6 separate regions of the Homo sapiens genome follow, and regions 1, 3, 4, 5 and 6 are each linked to region 2. The links are contacts of gene promoters, found by promoter capture Hi-C in human tissues and cell types (Jung and others, 2019). All regions are on one chromosome and are shown on one strand. Each heading gives the region's core, a stretch centred on a gene start or on the middle of the fragment in contact. The rest is flanking DNA. Distances are from core to core; before and after follow the strand shown. Region 1 overlaps CD38 (CD38 molecule). Region 2 holds the start of FGFBP2 (fibroblast growth factor binding protein 2). Region 3 has its middle 19 kb from the start of CD38. Region 4 overlaps TAPT1 (transmembrane anterior posterior transformation 1). Region 5 overlaps TAPT1 (transmembrane anterior posterior transformation 1). Region 6 overlaps CD38 (CD38 molecule).

Region 1 (3,555 bases), core at 438-2,937, 130 kb before region 2:
TATCCATTTATCTATTGATGGACATTTAGGTTGTTTCCATATCTTGGCTATTGTGAACAGTGCTGCAATAAACATGGGAGTGCAGATATCTCTTCCATTGACTGATTTTCTTTCTGTTGGGTATATATCCAGCAGTGGCATTGCTGGATCATATAATAGCTCTATTTTTATTTTTTTGAGAAACCTCAAAACTGTTCTCCATAGTGGTTGTACTAATTCACATTCCCACCAACAGTGTACAAGGGTTCCCCTTTCTCCACATCCTCATCATTATTTGTTATTGCCTGACTTTTGGATGAAAGCCATTTTAGCTGGGGTGAGATGATATCTCATGATAGTTTTGATTTGCATTTATCTGATGGTCAATGATTTGAACACATTTTCATATGCCTGTTTGCCATTTGTATGTCTTCTTTTGAGAAATATGTATTCAAATCTTTTGCCCATTTTTAATTGGATTATTAGATTTCTTTCCTATAGAGTTGTTTGAATTACTTATCTATTCTGGTTTTTAATGCCTTCTTGAATGGGTAGTTTGCAAATATTTTCTCCCATTCTGTGGGCTCTCTCTTCACTTTGTTGATTGTTTCCTTTGCTATGCAGAAGCTTTTTAACTTGATGTGATCCTGTTTGTTCATTTTGCTTTCGTTGCCTGTGCTCATGGGGTATTGCTCAATAATTTTTTTTGCCCAGACAAATGTCATGGAGAGTTTCCCCAGTGGTTTCTTGTAGTAGTTTGCAGTAGTTTCATAGTTTGAGGTCTTAGATTTAAATCTTTAATCTATTTTGATTTTATTTTTGTATGTGATTTGAGATAGGGGTCTAGTTTCATTTTTATCCATTGAGCCACTCTGTGCCTTCTGATTGTAGAGTTTAGTCCATTTACATTTGACGTAAATGTTATATTTTTAAGTAAGGACTTACTCCTGCCATTTTGTTACTTGTTTTCTGTTTGTTTTGTGGTCTTCTCTTCCTTCTTTCTTTCCTTTCTGTCTTCCTTTCAGTGGAGGTGATTTTTTCAGTTTCCTGCTTTTTATTTTTTGTGGAACTGTTATATGTTTTTGAGTTTGAAGTTACCATGAGGCTTAAAAATAGTATCTTATATCCCATTATTTTAAGCTGATAACAACTTAACACAGTTTGCATAAAGAAACAAAGACAGCAAACAGAAAGCTAATACAAACTCTATACCTTAACTTCATTCTCCCACTCTAAAACTTTTTGTTGTTTCTATTTATGTCTTATTGTACTTTATATGTCTTGAAAAGTTATTGTAGTTATTATTTCTGATTGGCTCATCATTTAGTTTTTCTACTTAAGACAAGAGTAGTTTACACGTCATAGTTACAGTGTTATAACATTCTGTGGTTTTCTGTGTACTTACTACTGCCAGTGAGTTTTGTACCTTCAGATGATTAAATTGCTCATTAATATCCTTTTCTTTCTAATTGAAGTACTCCCTTTAGCATTTCTTCTAGGACAGGTCTCGTGTTAATTAAATCCCTCACCTTTTGTTTGTCTGGAAAAGTCTGTGTTTCTCCTTCAAGTTTGAAGGATATTTTCACCAGATATACTATTCTAGAGTAAAAACTTTTTTTTTTGTCTTTCAGCACTTCAAATATGTCATGCCACTCTCATCTGGCCTGTAAGGTTTCCACTGAAAAGTCTGCTGCCAGATGTACTGAAACTCCCTTGTATGCTATTTGTTTCTTTTCTCTTGCTGCTTTTAGGATCCTTTCTTTATCTTGGACCTTTGGGAGTTTGATTATCAAATGCTTTGGGGCAGCATTCTTGGGTTAAATCTGCTTGGTGTTCTATAACCTTCTTGTACTTGGGATATTGATATCTTTCTCTAGGTTTGCAAAGTTCTCTGTTATTATTGCTTTGAATAAACTTTCTACCTGTATCTCTTTTTCTACCTCCTCTTTGACACCAATAACTCTTGGATTTGCCCTTTTAAGGCAATTTTCTAGATCCTGCCAGTGTGCTTCATTGTTTTTTATTCTTTTTTCTTTTGTCTCCTCTGACTGTGTATTTTCAAATAGCCTGTCTTCAAGCTCACAAATTCTTTCTTCTGCTTGATCAGTTCTGCTATAAAAAGACTCTGATGCATTCTTCAGTGTGTTATTTGTACTTTTCAGCTCCAGAATTTCTACTTGATTCTTTTTAATTATTTCCATCTCTTTGTTAAATTCATCTGATAGAATTCTTGAATTTCTTTCAGTTTCCTCAACATGGCTATTTTGAATTCTCTGTCTCACATATCTCTGTTTCTTCAGGATTGATCTCTGATGTCTTATTTAATTCATTTGGTGAGGTCATGTATTCCTGGATGGTCTTGATACTTGTAGATATTTTTCTGCATCTAGGCATTGTATTTATTGTAGTCTTTACAACCTGGGCCTGTTTGTACTTGTCCTTGGAAAGGCTTTCCAGATATTTTGAAGGACTCGGATGTTGTGATCTACGTTGTATCTGCTGTAGGGGGCCCTGCAAGCCTAGTAATGCTGTGGGTCTTGTACACACTCATGGAGGTACCACCTTGATGGTCTTGGACAAGATCTAGAAGGATTCTCTGGATTACCAGGCAGAGATTCTTTTTCTAGTCCCTTTACTTTCTCCCAGAGTCTCTCTCTTTCTGTTCTGACCCACATAAAGCTGGTGACACACTCCACCGCAACTAGGACTTTGCTGGGTAAGACTTGAAGCCAGTACAGCACTTGCCCAGGGCCTGCAGTAACCACTTCCTAGCTGCCATCTATATTTGCTCAAGGCTCTGGGGCTCTACAATCAGTAGGTGAGAAAGCCAGCCAGACCCGTGTTCTTCTCTTCAGGTTGGCAAGTTTCCCAAGGCCCTGGGTTGGTCCAGAGGTGCCATCCAGAAGCCAGGGACTAGAGTAAAAAACCTTAGAAGTCTACCTAGTATTGCATTGTACTGTGACTAAGCTGGCATTCAAACCACAAGACACAGTCCTTCCCATGCTGTCTTCCCCTTTTCTAAGGCAAAGGAGCCTCACCTCATGGCCACCACCACCACAGGCCCACAGGGAGTACTGCCAGTGTACTGTTAATATTCCAAGGCCCAAGGACTCTTCAGTCAGCTTGTGGTTAATGCTGCCTGGCCTGGGACTCACCCTTCAAAGCAGTGGGCTCCCCTCTGGCCCAGGGCAGGCCCAGAAATGCTATCCAAGAGCCACATCCTGGAATCAGGGACCCCAAGCCCAGTTGGTGCTCTACCTCTCTGTGGCTGTACCTGAAGCCAGCAAGTCACAGAGTCTCACCCAAGGCCCATGACATACTAATTGGGTATCACTTCTGGTTTTTCAGGGCCCAAGGGCTCTTCAGTTAGTAGGTGATGAATTCTCTCCAGATGTCGTTGTGAAGATAAAAGAGGTTTATTTTCATGAAAACATATATACTTTAAAGCACCTTATGAAATGTATGTCCATTCCACCATCAACATTTTTACCTCTGTTGGGAAGATAATTCCTTTTGACTCCACAATAATTATTTATATCTACACATGGGAATGTTTCTTTTTTATTTGTGTGGTTT
Region 2 (3,752 bases), core at 18-2,517:
TAACTTGACTGTAGGAGAAAAAACTGAGAACAAGACGGGGTGTGGCGACACCTCCACCATGACATAGCACCTCGGCCACTAACAGCTGCAGCAAATGCTTGGTTCATTAGGAAACGTTACCCGGCAGAATTCCAAAGGCCTCGGTCTAACAGTGAGGTGGTTCCATCACAAGGAGATTCTCAACCTTGGCTGCACATTCAAATCACTTGGGGGAGAGTTTTAAAAGTCCACATTCCTGCGCTACTATGTTGGAGACATAGATGGAACGGTCTGGCGAGGGGCCTGGGCATCAGCATTTTTAGAGCTCCTTGTAGGTGATTCCTATGCAACTCCAGGGTCAAGTGCCACTCCGGATGAACTACCTCATCTACACTGCTCTGCAACAGACAGCCTCAAACCCACCCCCAAACACACGCTGAGACTCTGATGTGGTCGCAGCAGCTGTGAAAGTGCTAAGTGCCTCTCACGTAGTCTCTGTATATAAGTATATACACGTAGTCTCTGTATATGAGTAAAGGAAAGGGTATTACCTGTAGGGGTCTTTCACCTGTCACCCTCGGAAGAAGCTGATGAGAAAGGCGCACAGGGCCTGGAAGGGTTTCCAACAATGTTCCCAGGCCTTCTTCTTTGCTTCCTCATTCCCTCCGGGCCTGGGTCCAGGCTGGGTAGGTTTGGCTGTGGGTCGGGTGGTGGGTTTGGCTTTTCCCAGCTCTTCCATCGAGTCCTTTCCCAGCTGTGTTGCTTCTGTGAGTTTCACTGTGGCCTTGGGCCTCAGAGATGGCGTCCCAGCCTCAGGCTGCTGGTTGGGCTCTGGGCTGCCCTTGAGGCTGGAAGTCACCTGCTGCATATGGGCCTGGGGTCCAGCCTCCCTGCACACGGATGGCCTAAGCACCGGGGCCCCCTGGCACGCATGGTGAAGGCGCCTCAGCTCCTGCAGGGCTTGATTCCAGTAAGGTTTGGGGTCAGCAGCGAAAGCCTGGCACATGCTGGGCTGCCCCCTGTACTCACACCAGTAGGTCTGGTCTGTGTTGCGGCAGTCGACACGAAGCCAGACTTCTCCAGCACCTTGCCCCAAGCTGCTGGGACGCATAGTGCAGGAATCTCTCCCTCCAGTCTGGAAATGGAATTCCTCCCCAGTGCTTCCTTGCTTTTGCCTCGGGGCCTGACCCAAAGTCCCCAGGCAGGACAAGGTCACCAGCAGGAGGCAGGGGACGAACTTCATGGCGATACTCCGATAAACTTGCTTGCAACTCTGCACCAGGAGAGAGAACACAAGTGGGACGAGTCACCCTTTAAAGGGTGCTGCACAAAAGACTCTTTCTCTGCAAGGGTGGGGAGGATGTTTTGCAGCAAATGAGAAACATGCCCACAGACCTTAGACACGTAACACTTGGCAAGGGCAGAGCAGCCACCAGGGGCCGCCCACCACAAGCAAAGGGAATGGTTTTCCTGAGTGCCTCAGAGAGATCTGCCCCAGCCCTGTCACGCACAAAGCGCCACACACAGCTTTGGGGCTGAGGGTTTTACAGTTTTCCAACCACAGGGTGCTTGCTCTAAAATTGGCCCTTGTACGGGAACAGCCTTCTTTGTCAACATTTGGTATATGCCAAGGTGTGGCAGTGGTATTCTGGAAAGTGAGGTTTGCAGCTGGGAGTCTGGGCTGCCTCGAGGCTCCCTCCTGCTCCCTGGAATCCCCATCTTGGGGGACCATGGGTTTAGTTAATCCAAAGGAAGCCAGAATTTTATGAGCCTAAGTGTTATGAGATGGCCTAGCAAATGCAAAAAAGACTATGTGAGGTTGTGTGAGGATGTGTGTGCCAGAGGGACACAGAGACACTCCCCCTCCCACCCACCGAGCTGAGAGTCACCTGGTGTGGCCTCTGTGGGGCTGTCCCGCCATCACCGTGGCCACAGGCCACAGTGCTGCAATGTTCACTTCCCTTGTTATTGCATGCCTTACAATTGCACCAACTGAATGATGACGAGGAAGGCATGCAAATATATGTTCACAGTGGGATTCAGTCTATTTTAGACCATGAATTCTATTTCAAATTCAATTGAAATAACACAGTTTTAATTATATCACAGGAAAATATGATTTTAAATATTATTATTATTGTTCTACAATAGAAAAAAAATAAATTGAAAATAACTTTTGATTCTGTGTCAAGAATCATAGTTTGGTATGGTCATAACTGTCTTTTGATGACCCTTCCAGAGGGCACTGTGGAGTGGACTAAAGGTGGCAATTTGCTGTTAGGAATAGGGTTGACGGATGTTGGGGGACTAGTTTGAATGTGAGGGATTTATCTTGGCGATCCCACGTAGGGTAGTTGGTACCTGGCACAGCCTTCCTTCCACCTGGATATCCTGAGTCCTGAGAAGACCTAGTAGGGCTGGAACTAAAGCCAGGCTGAGCTTCGGCAGCCACTGTGTGTGTAGCAGTGAGAGCCTTCCAGAAGAGGGCATCACCCCAGGTGGGGAGCAGAGGAAGCTTCCAAGAAGTGGTGCCAAACCTTCAAGACAAGTCAGTCAATTTGTCAGGTTGAGAAAGGGTAAAGGGCAGGTGTTTTTTTTGTTTGTTTGTTTGTTTGTTTGTTTTGGCCTCATTCTGTCACCTAGACCGGATTGCACTGGTGTAATTATAGCTCACTGTAGCCTCCAACTCCTGGGCTCAATTACTTCTCCTGCCTCAGCCTCTCAAGTAACTGGGACTACAGGCATGGGCTGCCACACCCAGCTAAATTTTAAATTTAAAATTTTTAGGGACAGGGTCTCACTCTGTTGTCCAGGCCGATCTCACACTCCAGGCCTCAAGCAATCCTCCTGCTTCCTTGTCCTCTGGAGTCACTGGAATTACAGATGTGAACCACCACAACCAGCTAAAGGTAGGTTTTTTTTTTTTTTCACACAGTCTTACTTTGCCACCCAGGCTGGAGTGCAGTGGCACAATCTTGGCTCACTGCAACCTCCACCTCCCAGGTTCAAGCAATTGTCCTGCCTCAGCCACCTGAGTAGTTGGGATTACAGGCGCCTACCACCATGCCAGGCTAATTTTTGTGTTTTTAGTAGAGATGGGGTTTCACGACGTTGGCCAGGCTGGCCTCAAACTCCTAACAAGTGATCCGCCCACTTCAGCCTCCCTAAGTGCTGAGATTACAGGCACGAGCCACTGCGCCTGGCCAAGGGCAGATTCTTAAGGCAGGATAATGCTTCCTGTAAAGGAGTGATCCTGGAGTGCAGGTTTATGGACTGCTGAAATGTCAAGGGCAAGGAGGCAGTGGTGAGAATCAGGCTGGAGAGGTGACTTAGGGTGGGGTCCGCAGCCCCCGTACCAATCCACAGGGCCAGTTCTAAGACAGAGGCTTGCCCTTTGTGTGCTTCCAACTCAGGAGCCCCTGGAGTAAACAGCACTCCAACCCAGGCTCCATGTCGTGGCCACAGGAAGGCAGGTGTTCAGCTCCAACCTCCTTTCCCCCACCCACCACAGTGTTGCAGGGAACAGCTTGCTAGACCCATCTAGACACCCTGAGGTTATGGCCAGCCCTTTTCAATGCCCTAGTGAGGCTGAGTTTACCCTGCAATGGGAACTTATCATAAGAGCTCTAATCACGCTCTTCCTCTTTTCGCTTTTGGGACAAGCCAAACCTCAAGACCTTTGCACTAGTGCCCACTGCCTGAAAATCTTTTCCTTGAACATCGCATGGCTGCCTTCTCCCTGCCACCTTCACAGAGGCCTTCCCTCGCTATAC
Region 3 (3,638 bases), core at 120-2,619, 200 kb before region 2:
TCGGCCTCCCAAAGTGCTGGGATTACAGGCATGAGCCACCGCGCCCGGTGGGATTTTCTTAAACATTAAATGTCTAATGTTTTAAAAACCCAATAACATCAGCATTTTTAATAACAATTTTTATTGTAAATTGACAATTTATAATTGTGTATATTTCTGGATACAACGTGATGTTATAATTTATAAATACAATGTAGGATAATTAAATTAAGCTAGTTAACATATCCATCATCTCAAATATTTAGCATTTTTTTTCAACTTTTATTTTAGTTTCAGGGGGTACATGGGCAGGTTTGTTACACAGGCAAATTGTGTGTCACTGGGGTTTGGTATACTAATGATCTTATCACCCAGGTAGTGAGCATAGTACCTGACAGCTGGTTTTTCAGCCGTCCCTCCCCTTCCGCCCTGTCTCCTCTAGTAGTCCCCAGCGTCTATTGTTTCCATCTTTATGTCCATGTGCACTCAATATTTAGCTTTCACTTAAACGTGAGAACATGTGGCATTTGATTTTCTGTTCCTGCATCAATACACTTAGGACAATGGCCTCCATTATCCTAAGCTACATCTTTTGCGGCTGTATCCATGTTGCTGCTAAATATGTGGAATACTATGCAGCCATAAAAAAGAATGAAATCATATCCTTAGCATTTTTTTGTCATGAGAACATTTGAAATTTACTCTCTTAGCAATTTTGAAATGTATGATACTGTTTGTTAACTATATTCACCACACTATGCAATAGATTTCAAAGAAACTTCCATATTCCTTCTGAGATTTTTGTACCTTGTTCATCATCTCCCTAACACCCTCACCCTCTAGCCTCTGTAACCACCAGTTTATTCTCTGGTTCTACGAGTTTGATTGTTTTAGATTCTTCATTTAAGTGAGAATATGCAGTATTATTTAAGATCATTTAATTAAGTTTTAGTATGTATAAAGTATTTGGCGTCAATGCCTACCTATTTCTATGGAATGAAACAGAACAAAACATTTCCCACCTGAACCACAACCTGCATGCTGGTGTTGTCTTCACTGCAGGTGGATTACGGAGCTATGGCCTACACACCTCAGTGCCTTTTGTAGGAAATCATGGCTAAGAGTCAATGCTTGGAATCAGGTGGACAGGCATCAAGTCCCATTTCCACCACACGTATCTGTGTGTCCTCAGTTAAGTTAACTGACCTCTGTCTGCCATAGTCAAAATTCCTAGTTATGTATATCAAAAACTATCTCCTGGTGTATATTACAGAATATTAGGAAGCTCAAGCATCTCAGGGACGGAGAAGGACTAAGGAAAGAGCCAAGAATAACATCCAGATTATACTACTGGTCCACTATGGAGCCCACTACCCAGATTTCTGGGCGAAAGAAGATGGATGTGCTGCTCAAGGGCTGACTGGTAGAACGCCCAGCAGTGGCACCTCTGAAAATGCTGTATTCACCACACTCAAGTTTTCAAATCTGTAAAGCAGGTATAGTAAGAATATTTACCTCATGGGGTTATTATGCAGATTTGATAACACTGTGTATAGAAAGACCCCAGTATGGTGTTTGGCACTTAGTAAATGCTCAGTTAATGTTTCTGCTCCATTTCCTCCTTCATTTTCTTCTACCTTAACTTCTCATCTATTTTCATTTTTCTTCTTTTTTCTTTCTCTAACTTCTTCCTCCTCCTGTTTTTCTCACTTCTTCACTTCTCTTCCATCCCCTTTCTTCTTCCTCATTCCTTATTTCTCTTCCTAAGAGTTGGTAAGAGGCAGCGTATGACTATTCTGCCAATGGAAACCATTTTCCCTGTTTCTGTAACAGGGGGTGTCATGGGGTACAGCACCAAAGAGCTACTATTTAGTTGGATATTACCATAAGTTAATAAAGGCTCAATACCCCGCTTTCTCCTTTACTTCCCCCCTCCACTCCCAGTATTTACCCAGTGGCATCAAATCTGGAATGGGCTATCTTCATATCAGAACCAGGAAAAATGGAAGGGAGTTACACCAGAAACCATAAACCCTATGTGAGGAGGGATTTTGTTTAACATCTTTTTTTGAGATCGAATTTACAAACATAAAATTTATCCTGAAAGTATATGATTTAGTAGTTTTTAGCATATTCAGTTTTGTGACTATCACACAAGTTTAGAACATTCCTCTCAACCCCAAGGAAACCCCATTCCTATTGGGCTGTCACTCCTCATTCCCCAACATGCAGCCCTAGGGAACTTCTAATCTACTTTCCGTCTCTATGGATTTGCCTAGTCTGGATATCTCATGTAAGTGGAATTATACAATATGTTACTTCTTGTGACTAGCTTCTTACACTTGGCATGTTTTTGAGGTACGTCCATGTTGTGGTATGCGTTAGCATTTCATTTTTTTTTTTGGCTCAATAATATTCCGCTGTGTGGGCATATCACATTTTGTTTATCCATTCATCAATTAAGGATATTTGGGTTGTTTCTGTTTATCAATTATTATGATAATGCCTTTATGAACCTTCATGTACATTTCTGTGTGAACATATGTTTTCATATCTCTTGGGTAGATATCCAGGAGTGGAATTTCCAGGTCATGTTCACTCTGCTTAACATTTTGAGGAATTGCCAGATTATTTTCTAAAGTAGCTGAGGGCAGGGATTTTTGTCTGGTTTGTTCATCGCTGATCCAGTGCTGACATATGGTAAACTTAAAACTATTTATTAAATAAATTGAATAAATGAATTAATAGTTGTCTGGTAAAAATATAATTTTTCCTTATATATGTAAGCATGCATAAATAAATATATACTATATATTTATTTATTTATTTATTTATTTTTCGAGATAAGGTCTCTTTTACCCAGGCTGAAGTGCAGTGGTGTGATCTTGGCTTACTGCAGTCTCCACTTCCTGGGCTCAGGTGATCCTCCTACTTCAGCCTCATGAGTAGTGGGGACCACAGGTGTGCACCACCACGCCTAGCTTTTTTTTTTTTTTGGTATTTTTAGTAGAGATGGGGTTTCACCATGTTGCCCAGGCTGGTTTCAAATTCCTGAGTAATCTGCCTGCCTTGGCCTTTCAAAGTGCTGGGATTACAGGTGTGAGCCCCCTGCACCCAGCCAACATATTTTTGTTTAAACATTATGTATGGCATATAGTTTTTTTGTTTTGTTTTGTTTTGTTTTGTTTTTTAAGACAGAGTTTCGCTCTTGTTGCCCAGGCTGGGGTGCTGTGGCACAACCTCAGCTCACCTCAACCCCCGCCTCCCGGGTTCAAGTGATTCTTGTGCCTCAGCCTCCCGAGTAGCTGGGATTACAGGCATGTTCCACCATGCCCGGCTAATTTTCTGTATTTTTAGTGGAGATGGGGTTTCTCCATGGGCATATAGTTTTGTAAATTGGCAATTGCTGTTTGTTAAAAATGGAGTTTTAAAATTCTACTCTAGCTGTACAGTTCTGGGAAAGAGGCTTTTTTTGCGTTGTCCTGTGTGCCACCTTCTCACTTGGAAAGGAAAAGAAATTAACTGAGCATGAAACTTAAGTGAGATAAAATTGTATGTGGCAATACATGTATACCATAATACAGGGAACGTATTGAAGTGCTAAAAAACAAGAAAGTAATTTCTTTATTGTTATCTTCCTGTCTGTTGCTAGCTTGGTA
Region 4 (3,703 bases), core at 575-3,074, 220 kb after region 2:
TCCATAAATGAATTTAACAATGAAATGTATTTATTTTTGATACTTCCCAAACATGTATAATATAGACTTGCTTCATTACAGAATTATCTGAAAATAAATGGCCTTGAGAAATTTAAAACACTATCTGAAATGAGCCAAAGTAACTTTTGTAAACTCTAACAAAGCAAAACTACCATCGAATTTAAATTAATTGTATTTGATTTTTGGACATATGGCAGCTGCAAGTATAGAGAAAATCTGCAATAATTTCATTTCTAAGGATACTGATGAAAGGGGGAAAAACTTATCTCATTAAAGGTGTATTTAAGGCAAAACAGATTTTATTTTTTAAGATTTTTTTATTTTTTTGAGACAAGAGTCTTGCTTTGTCTCCCAGGCTGGATGCAGCCTCCACCTCCCGGGTTCAAGCAATTCTCCTGTCTCAGCCTCCGGAGTAGCTGGGATTACAGGCATGTGCCACCATGCCCGGCTAATTTTTATATTTTTAGCAGAGACAGGGTTTCACCATGTTGGCCAAGCTGGTCTCCAACTCCTGATCTCAGGTGATCCGCCCATCTTGGCCTCCCAAAGTGTTGGGATTACAGGCGTGAGCCACTGTGCCTGGCCCAAAACAAATTTTAGAAAAGCAGACTATTTCAAAATATGATAGAGATTAATAAAAATGGATAAATTTGGTAAATGAATGCGATTTTATAAGATGAAGGATGTGAAGGATGGCAAGCTTAAAGATTAAAAAGTGACACCATAAAAATTAACTCTATCTTTATTTGATAAGATAAAGATACAAAACTATATCTAACTATAAAAATGAGGCTGTTATGTGAAGATTTTTTGGAAGTTTTATTCTTACACTTTCACAACTTTTACATTTAAATGTTTTACATAGACATTATAAAATCAAGATTTGACTTTTAAAATTTGAGTTAAAAAATACCCAAATTTTAAGTTTCTCCAAAGTAAGATATAAAAAGAAATAAAATTTTTATGAGAATAACAGAGTCTGATACTGATAATCAAACATATATTAGATAAATAATGCAATCAGCAACATATTTATACCATCTCATCTTCAGAATAGTCAGGGTTCGGATTAGAACTGAACTCTTACATTGATTAAAAATTAAAATTTCTAGGAATGTTTTCTCCTAACCTTTATTAAGAAGCTTAAAAACATTGGTATTAATGCTTTTAAAATATTTCTGACATTCAGGTTATTAAGCTTTTTCCTTGCTATATTACCACTAACAGGGATATACTTTAACATACTTGCAGTCACATTTTAAATATAAAATGAGTGACTATTTCCAACAAACATCCACATTTATTGCAGATATGCAGGCTTCTAAGAGTGCTAAGTGAGCTATAAGCTTACTCCAGACAACCTAACTCCTGAAGGACCTTTCTAAATGCACAGTTCACATTACCAATGCGTAAAAAACTACCTAAAATTCTTCATCTCAAGAATGCAAACCAGAAAGGCTGGGGTTCCACATTCAGCTAACGCTTATGTTAAAATGAAGTGAAGAAAAGGATAATTTGTTAAAAATCTGGTTTTGGTAACTAAACTACTTTTCACATGTCCTCAGGCAATTCCTCCAAAGAAAATATACAGTGAGCTACCACTGAAAGGGGTAAAGTTACTCTCAGATTTCTCCATGAAGTCTTCTATATTAAACCAGCATGAAGGACTGAACCTTACACTACGTATCTGGCAACTCAAATTCTGATGGAGAAAAAATTCATAGGAAAATTCATAAGAAAAAAATAGCCGATATGAGTATCCCTCCTGACTGGCTCTCATTAAGTAGCTACTACTGAAGCATATGAAGAAGGCAACATATTCATATAAAGAGTAAAAAGCACCTCTTGGTGACTCCTGATCTTTCCATTTTAATAGCTGAACGTTGCCTAGAATATTTTTTTTCTTACTTGAGAAGGGTCTTAAAATCTGCCTTAGGGTAAAGTTAATTTCTTATAAAACTCTTAAAGGGTACAATGCGGACCACCTTGCATTGTAACATGAGCTACTTTGCTTACAGCAAAAAGTAATTTTTTTTTTGGTGCTAAGTAGTAACCATTTTAAGCCAAAATAAAGTCCAAATTTCTTGTAGACTGATATGCATACCTGATCATTATATCATTTTTTTTCCCAGAGTTTTCTTAAAACTCAAATATTGAATACCTAATCTTTCTAAGCTAAGAGGTTGGAATTCTGGGGAACCCGTTTATAAAAATGAAAAGGGGTATTAATTACATCAACATGCTGGCCATAAGGTTAAAAACATTCACAATTTCCCCCTCATAATTTTGAAGCTTTTATACACAAGGATTGAAAACCTTTAAAACTTAAGATCTGCGTGTCTAGTTTAAGGCTCTATAAAGAGCACTTACCCAAAGGAGGTTACTAATATGAATTAATTTAAAAAAAACATGGTTTCCACAACAAACGAAATTCTTACAGTTGAATCAATTTACTCTATGGTTAACTACTGAAGCAAAGTATTCTATAATTTAGTACCTTCCCTCCTTCCTCTTTCATTTCTAATTCATGACACTTGGCAGTCTGCACTTGAAAGGTGAGCAACATTAATAAGCAGCAAGAATATGAACTGCTTCTCAGAGCCTTGAGAGTCAGGTCCAGCATGGCCTCATAGAATCATCTAGGCTTTATGTTCAAGTTTTCCATTTGTTCTTTTTGTTCCTTGCTTAGTTTTCAAATCTCCTATAACTTGTTTAACATATTCATATGCCATTATTTTCCTTGTCTAATATACAGGTAAAATTTACATACAGTGAAATGCACAGATCTTAAGTACATTATGTGATGAGTTCTGATCAATGCATAACTTGAGACACCAAGCCCTTAATACAGAAAGAAGTTCCATCATCCAGAAAGCTCCTTTGAGTCCCCTTAGTCAATCCAAATGCCCAACAAACAACCTCTTATTCCTATCATCATAAACGAATTTTGTCTGATCATAAACTTCATATAAATGAAATAATACATCATGTACACTTTTGTGTCTGGCTTTTCTGCTCAACATAATGCTTCTGAGACCTACATAGCTGACAATATTAGGAGTTCATTCTTTTATCTTTAATTGCTAAGTAGTATTCTATGGTATGGATATACAGTTTGTTTATTTTCCTACTGATAGCTATTTGGGTTGTTTCCAGTTTTTGGCTAGTATGAACAAAGCTGCCATAATAATTCTTGCAACAAGTCCTACTGAGGAAATATATTTCCTGAATTACAGGGCAGGTGAACATTTAACTGTAAAAGAAATGGCCAAAAACAGCAGTTGTAATACTTTACACTCACGCCATCGATGCCTGAGTGCCAGTTAATCCATATCCTAACTTGTGGCACTGTCAGGCTACAAGAGCAGTCACTCTGGAGGGTGTGCAGTGCTATCTCATTATGGCTTTGTCTTTCTCCAGTGACATTTTCCCTAATAATGCCGAGCAGCTTTTCATGACCTTATTGGACATTTATAGATTTTCTTTTGTGAAATGTCTGTTCAAGCCTTTTCCCCATTTTAAAACTAGATTGTCCTTTCATTATTGATTGGTATAGTTTGTTATATATTCAGAAAACAAACAAACAAAATCTATCGTCAGATATATGCATCTCAAATCTTTTCTCTTAGTACTGTGGCTGGCCTTTTCACTTTTTAAGTTTTATGATCACATATTTTAATTT
Region 5 (3,400 bases), core at 464-2,963, 240 kb after region 2:
TGAGAGTGGCATGCACACCACAGGGAAGGAGGTGCAAGAGATAGCAGAGATGTCCCACAGAGGAGAGAAGACAGGCACTAGATTTTGCCAGGCAGTAAAGAGGACCGAATTTCAAACCAAGGAAAGAGCATGCACAGGTACAATGTGAGTAGCCTCCTAGTGGTGAGGTTAGGATATAATCATTATGCAAGAGGCATAAAAATCACGTTCAGTTCATTGCTAAGGAGCTCAAATTTTCATTCTTAGGTTCCAAGGTATCCTTGTCTTTTGACTGTTTTCACTTATAGCTCTTTTATTTTAAAGAGGTACCTGAAGATGATTAGGTTATTTTGAAACATGTACATTTTGATAAATCTCTGCTGAGAATGAAGATGTTCTCAATAAACTCACATATAGGGATCAACAATCAGCAGAATGTTAAGGGGAACAGGATATCAATAAGAAAACTATAAATGACTGACTTTGAAAGCAATTACTGCAGATTCAAGGTCATCCCTACAATAAAATCATTTTAATCATCCGAATTAAAAAATTCATGCCCCAGAAAGTCTATACTCTAGGAGATGGCCAACAAAGGGATTATCATGAGCCAAGTTCTCTTACGATAGGCAAGCTATGTAAGCATATGCAGCCATGGAAAACAAGTCAATTGATTTTAATTTGTAGGACTATGCACATAGAATGATCCTGAGACTTTCTTGCTTCTCTTACTTCCAATCCATGTTGAATACTGTTATATTTTAAGCACGTGACCCACATTAACTTGATCCTCACAACAACCCACCAGGCAGGAACTATTACTTGGTATTTTGCTTGCTACAGACAGGGCTTAGACAGGGCTGTGGTGCTCCTGCTGAGAGGCTGGAATGATGCAGCAAGGCAGGAGTGCCCTCAGGGTCCCAGGGCAAGACTGAGTGTCACCTAAGGAACAGAGGTCTTAGCTGCGGCTCTAGGCTCTGATCCTACACCTTCTATCTAGGATGAGATCGACTTTCTAGGGAGTGGTCAGCACGAAGCACCACAGCAGGCTGCAGTGAGCAGAGAGGACAGTACGGAAGGAGAAGAGCCATCAGTGTGAATGATCACAGCAGCCTGACATAGGACAATGGAAAGACAGAGAAGAGAAATTTAAGACTGTTTCCAAAGCTGAAATGAGAGAAATAAGTGATTGATTCACAAAGATAAACATGGCCCCATGGTGCCAAGTTCAAAAATTATCTTTTAAATACATTAATAAATGTGCTAGAGGCCTAAAGGCTTTGCTGGCTTGTCTTAGAACTATCTGATGAGTCTCATATGCCCAACCTCCCCTGAGAAAATTAAGAATGGTAAGACAGTTGCAGAAAGAACGTGGAAGCTGTGGTCACTACCACCACAAGCAGGGTGTGACAAGCCTCGGAGAGAAGGGGAGAAGCACCAGCCAAGGCTGCTGAGATTCTGAGACATGTGGATCCCTACTGGCTTTCCTGCTTCTCAGCAGCCACACAGCAGGGGCTGGGGGACAAGGAGGGGGAACATCTGCACAAGGGTGTGTCACCAGCAAGAGCTGCATTATGAGAAGAATTTAGAGGGATGATTCTCTGAACATGTTTTTATGAAATCAGAAACTGACTAGGATGCCCAAGAAAACACTGCCATAAATATGGGTCTGAGTAAATACTCTCTATTAGTTTCACAATGAAATCCCAGGACTGTTTTACTGAAATAAAGGGGAAACAATAGTCATTACGTTTTCTTAACATATCCTCACACTGACATAAAACAAAAAGGCTTTATATGACATTTGAAGTCCGTTCGTTTGAAATGAACTTTTGGATTATTTTTTCCTAAATGTTAACCCCACCACGACCTTCAAAAAGGCAAAATTAAGTTACTCCACTAGACATTTAAATCTTTCCATCTACCCTCACCATTCCTCACAGGCAAACTCATTCAATGAATCATGCACTATTAGACCTCTTGAGATGACCTAGGTACAACCTTCTAATCATAGAAGAAAGTAAAACCCAAGAGAGATCTGATGCCTTGATCAGGCCTCAGCTATTACAAACAGACTCAAGAAGCTAAGGTTGTTGATGCTTGATTACAAATAATTCCCCTGTATGACAGTAACCCTTCCCCCTTTCAACAATAATAGTCTATGCCTAGTAATAACAATATATCAATACTTACACCTTCAATCTGACAAATTTAAGGCTTATAAAAATTTGCTACATTGGTAAGAAAACTAAGTCATTCTATTTAAGCAGTTGAATTTAATTTTTAGAAAAATGTATTAAATAGCTATAATGTACAAGGCATGGTAACAATGAAATAATGAATTGCCAAAAAGCACAGAATTACAAGGTAAAGAAAAGTCAACAGAATATTTTCATTTTAGTTTAACCAGATATGCAAGCTTACATGAACATATATAAACACGGAAAAGAATATTGCTAAAAGGCTTCATGATAATCCACAACATACATCTGACATATTTAACCCAAGAAATAAATACCATGAGAGGGGAATAAGTAAATCAAATGAAGATTTTAATTTGTAGAATTAAATTATGTAATTGTAGAATTAAATTAGAATTTTAATTGTAGAATTAAATTATATATTAACTATATTCATGGAAGGATCTTGAGCTCTCCCTGCTTGTCTCATTTCCAGTCCATGTTGAATATGACTATACTAATTTTCCAGAAAGAAAGCTCTGACGGATGGCTAACCCAATAACCATTCTCAGTTCTTTTCTGTTTGTTGGAAAAGCCTAACATTCACTGTCCTAGCCTCCTTTGCAGCTGGGAATGGCTATGTAGCTCAGTTTGGACAATAAGACAGAAGTGGAAGTATTCCAGGCCACGTCTGGGAAATCTTTCAATCTTTATAAAAGGCATAGTCAAAAAAGTGGCAATGCCCACCCCATTTCTTTGTTTATAATGCAGATGTAATGCCGAGGTTGCAGCCGTCATCTTTCTACTAGAAGACAACAAGCAAGAGGACCCAAAGCCAATTTGCCAAGGATGGCAAAATAGAAAGATGAAAAGGACTTGGGTCCGTGACAGCTTCATTAATCTGCTGCAACAACTGAGACCTCTTTTCTTCTAGATTTGTTGAAAAAAATAATTTCCTACTTGTTTAAATGACTGTTAGCCAGCTTTTCCATTCTATACAGCTAAAAGCATTCCTAAGAAATATATATTTAATAGTCTCCTTCCATAGACTCAACTCTAAACTCTCCAGCCTGACCATTCAACATAACTGGATCTAGCCTATCTCTTTTTTTGAGATAGGGTCTCACTCTGTTGCCCAGGCTGGAGTACAGTTGCATGATCTTAGCTCAGAGCAACCTCTGCCTCTGGGGCTCAAGCAATCCTTCTGCCTCAGTCTCTCGAGTAGCTAGGACTACAGGCGT
Region 6 (3,516 bases), core at 203-2,702, 170 kb before region 2:
GGTACGCAGTGAAAGAGCGGCTAGGGGACTGCCGAAGAGTCAGCAGTCTCAATAAACTGGAGCTGCTCACTTTTATTCAGTACAGACATAATGCCGAAAGCCTGGAGCCAACGCAGTCTGTGGGTAATTAACATTGTTGTTCCGCCGTGCAGGGAGCAGTCTCGCCAGAGGATGATGAAAGGTTGGTTTCCGGAAGTAAACAAGCTTATTTAGACAAACTCCCCTACATTCCCTTGTACCCACTCCTCGCCCTCTGCGTCAGGGTAAGAGAACAGCTGCCTTCAGCTTATTCTCCCCCGAAGCTTTGCAGAGCCTTCTGACCTTTCAAAAGGTCTTCTTCTTTCCCTATCGGTTCTCCCACTACTCTGACTGATCTCCTATATTTGATCTCACCTTAACAATCACTTCTTAGAGCTGGGTCAGGAAGTATGCAGCATGCACCTGGCACTCCTAGTACTGTGCCCATGATGGGCATTGCTGATTGTTCAGAGCATATTGGATGAGCCTGGTTCAGCCTCAGAATCTTCCACCCAGTGCACCATGGAGATGCTACCAATTGGTTGGAGTTGCTCTGAGAGGTGACATTTCCTTGTGATTCTGCATTAGAAACATGTTGTTTGTCAGCCGAAACAGGGAAACCTGACACGTTATCCGCCCCCAGGAAGATCCCATCATCATTCCATGCACCTTCAGTCCTGGGAGCTTACTTTAAAAAAAAGTGACTGACATATGAGCGCAGGTCCCCAAACAGAGGGGAGGCAGGATGAGAAGCCAGATGAAGAGAGTCAAGGTCCTGGGGCTGCTTAGCTTGGATGAATCTGATGGGAGGTGGGGTGCATCTGAGTGTTCTCTGCTGATGAAGAACAGACTTGTTGCACGGGGGTAGGTGTGTGCTGTGTAAACACACATCAGAATCAGGACCCCGAATAGTGAATAGGCAAGAGTAACAGCTGAATTTGCCCAGCTCATCACAATTTAACATCAGTTTTCAAAAAGGTAAGAGCGTGGCTTTCATAGCATGCAGAATCAACACACATCAAAGATTGATTTACTCATTTATGAAGGAATCAGCAAAATGACAAACTTAGTTCAGAGAATATTTTGAGGCTCTGAGTAGATATAAAACTGGTTAATGTTTCTCAGGGCAATAAAAAGCTATAAACGTTGGGGATTTCTTTTTTATCAGACAGAAATTATTTGCATACTTAACAGAAAAGATCTCCAAGTTACCATCTAACTTCATAAGGTTCGAATAAAACTTCATAGAGTTATTAATGAATGGTAAATAGAAAAGACAAATATATGTTTTACCAGATAATTAAGTAATTCTTGGTAAACCTGGCAAACAGTACCCCAGTGTGACTCTGAAAAGACATGCTGCCCATCTTTTTGCCTTATTTCCACGTTTTAGGTATTTTTGTAAGATATCTATTCAATAAATATGTATTGAGCTCCTATGATGTCCCAGAAACTCTTTTAGATCCTGGAGATATAGCAGTAAACAAAACAGATGAAATTCTTGCTCACATGGAACTTATATTCTAGTAGGGGAGACAGACATTGAAACAGAAAAATACATAGTATGGCAGATGGTGGAAAGTATTAAAAAGAGTGCTGTGTAGTGTTTACAACTTACTCATTTATGAAGGAATCAGCAAGATGATAAACTCAGTTCAAAGAACATCTTGAGGCACCGAGTACATTTAAAAGTGGTTAGTTTCTCAGGGCGATAAAAAGCCATAAACTTTGGGGATTTCTTTTTTAGGTATGGAAACCTAAAGTAAAGAAGATGCTATGGTTTGCACATTTGTCCCCTCCAAAACTCATGTTTGAAATGTAATCCCAGAAGTGGCAGGATGAGAGATTGGCCCTTTAGGAGGTGACTGGGTCATGAGAGATCTGCCCTCATGAATGGATTAATCCATTCATGGATTACTGATTAATACGCTAATGGGTTAATGGATCAATGGGTTATCCTTGGAATGAAATGGCAGGCTTTACAAGGAGAGGAAAAGGGACTTGAGCTAGCATGCTCACCCTCCTCACCGTGTGATGCCCTGTCCTGCCTCAGGACTCTGCGGAGTTCTGGTAAGCAAGAAGGCTGTCACCAGATGTGTCCCCTAAACCTTGGACTTTTTGGCCTCCATAACTTTAAGGAATAAATTCATTTTTAAAATAAATTACCCAGCTTCAGGTATTCTGCTATAAGCAACAGAAAATGACTAAAACAGGAGGCTTTACTGGAAGGTGTCCTCTTAGCAAAGACCTAAAGAAAGAGGGAGAGTGAAACATAGAAATATCTGGGGAGAACATCCTAGGTAAAAGGAACAGCATGTGCAAAGGCCTTGAAAAGCAGCAAGCCGCTCTCCCTCTCCCTCTCCCTCTCCCTCTCCCTCTCCCTCTCCCTCTCCCTCTCCCCCTCTCCCTCCCCCTCCCCCTCCCTCTCCCTCTCTCTCCACGGTCTCCTTCCACGGTCTCCCTCTGATGCCGAGCCAAAGCTGGACGGTACTGCTGCCATCTCGGCTCACTGCAACCTCCCTGCCTGATTCTCCTGCCTCAGCCTGCCGAGTGCCTGCGCACGCCGCCACGCCTGACTGGTTTTCGTTTTTTTTTTTTGGTGGAGACGGGGTTTTGCTGTGTTGGCCGGGCTGGTCTCCAGCTCCTGACCGCGAGTGATCCGCCGGCCTCGGCCTCCCGAGGTGCCGGGATTGCGGACGGAGTCTCGTTCACTCGGTGCTCGGTGGTGCCCAGGCTGGAGTGCAGTGGCGTGATCTCGGCTCGCTACAACCTCCACCTCCCAGCCGCCTGCCTTGGCCCCCCAAAGTGCCGAGATTGCAGCCTCTGCCCGGCCGCCACCCCGTCTGGGAAGTGAGGAGCGTCTCTGCCTGGCCCCCCATCGTCTGGGATATGAGGAGCCTCTCTGCCTGGCTGCCCAGTCTGGAGGGTGAGGAGCGTCTCTGCCCGGCCGCCATCCCATCTAGGAGGCGAGGAGCGCCTCTTCCCCGCCGCCATCCCATCTAGGAAGTGAGGAGCGTCTCTGCCCGGCCGCCCATCGTCTGAGATGTGGGGAGCACCTCTGCCCCGCCGCCCTGTCTGGGATGTGAGGAGCGCCTCTGCTGGGCCGCAACCCTGTCTGGGAGGTGAGGAGTGTCTCTGCCCGGCCGCCCCGTCTGAGAGGTGAGGAGACCCTCTGCCTGGCAACCGCCCCGTCTGAGAAGTGAGGAGCCCCTCCGTCCGGCGGCCACCCCGTCTGGGAAGTGAGGAGCGTCTCCGCCCGGCAGCCACCCCGTCCGGGAGGGAGGTGGGGGGGGGTCAGCCCCCCGCCCGGCCAGCTGCCCCGTCCGGGAGGTGAGGGGCTCCTCTGCCCGGCCGCCCCTACTGGGAAGTGAGGAGCCCCTCTGCCCGGCCAGCCGCCCCGTCCGGGAGGGAGGTGGGGGGGTCAGCCCCCCGCCCGGCCAGCCGCCCAGTCCGGGAGGTGAGGGGCGCCTCTGCCCGGCCGCCCGTACTGGGAAGTGA

Evidence for each region. Contacts are between HindIII fragments. The study calls those that stand out against the background at their distance.
Region 1: a contact is called between a fragment that was not itself captured here and the fragment with the promoter of FGFBP2 in region 2, in 4 of the 25 tissues and cell types used here (H1 embryonic stem cells, mesenchymal stem cells, small bowel and 1 more).
Region 3: a fragment that was not itself captured here is called in contact with the fragment with the promoter of FGFBP2 in region 2 in 2 of the 25 tissues and cell types used here (heart left ventricle and mesendoderm cells).
Region 4: a fragment that was not itself captured here is called in contact with the fragment with the promoter of FGFBP2 in region 2 in 1 of the 25 tissues and cell types used here (H1 embryonic stem cells).
Region 5: a contact is called between a fragment that was not itself captured here and the fragment with the promoter of FGFBP2 in region 2, in 1 of the 25 tissues and cell types used here (H1 embryonic stem cells).
Region 6: a fragment that was not itself captured here is called in contact with the fragment with the promoter of FGFBP2 in region 2 in 1 of the 25 tissues and cell types used here (lymphoblastoid cells).

Annotation. Positions count from the first base shown.
Region 1 is chr4:15,829,978-15,833,532 of GRCh38, forward strand. The region is part of intron 3 of CD38 (CD38 molecule); the gene reads left to right. Among named protein-coding and RNA genes, the nearest start is that of CD38, 53 kb to the left of the region's middle. The HindIII fragment of the contact is 8,209 bases long and covers 1-3,555 here.
Region 2 is chr4:15,961,908-15,965,659 of GRCh38, forward strand. FGFBP2 (fibroblast growth factor binding protein 2) reads right to left here and starts at 1,268. Exons shown (of 2, transcript NM_031950.4): 1 at 531-1,268. The coding sequence starts at 1,222. The coding sequence ends at 551. RefSeq lists an enhancer at 1,298-2,139. The HindIII fragment of the contact is 18,537 bases long and covers 1-3,752 here.
Region 3 is chr4:15,757,892-15,761,529 of GRCh38, forward strand. It overlaps a transcript of BST1 not described here. Among named protein-coding and RNA genes, the nearest start is that of CD38, 19 kb to the right of the region's middle. The HindIII fragment of the contact is 5,413 bases long and covers 1-3,638 here.
Region 4 is chr4:16,181,262-16,184,964 of GRCh38, forward strand. The region is part of intron 7 of TAPT1 (transmembrane anterior posterior transformation 1); the gene reads right to left. Among named protein-coding and RNA genes, the nearest start is that of TAPT1, 43 kb to the right of the region's middle. The HindIII fragment of the contact is 3,708 bases long and covers 1-3,678 here.
Region 5 is chr4:16,205,611-16,209,010 of GRCh38, forward strand. All of the region lies in intron 2 of TAPT1 (transmembrane anterior posterior transformation 1), which reads right to left. Among named protein-coding and RNA genes, the nearest start is that of TAPT1, 19 kb to the right of the region's middle. RefSeq lists a silencer at 196-245. The HindIII fragment of the contact is 4,909 bases long and covers 1-3,400 here.
Region 6 is chr4:15,787,742-15,791,257 of GRCh38, forward strand. All of the region lies in intron 1 of CD38 (CD38 molecule), which reads left to right. Among named protein-coding and RNA genes, the nearest start is that of CD38, 11 kb to the left of the region's middle. The HindIII fragment of the contact is 4,271 bases long and covers 1-3,516 here.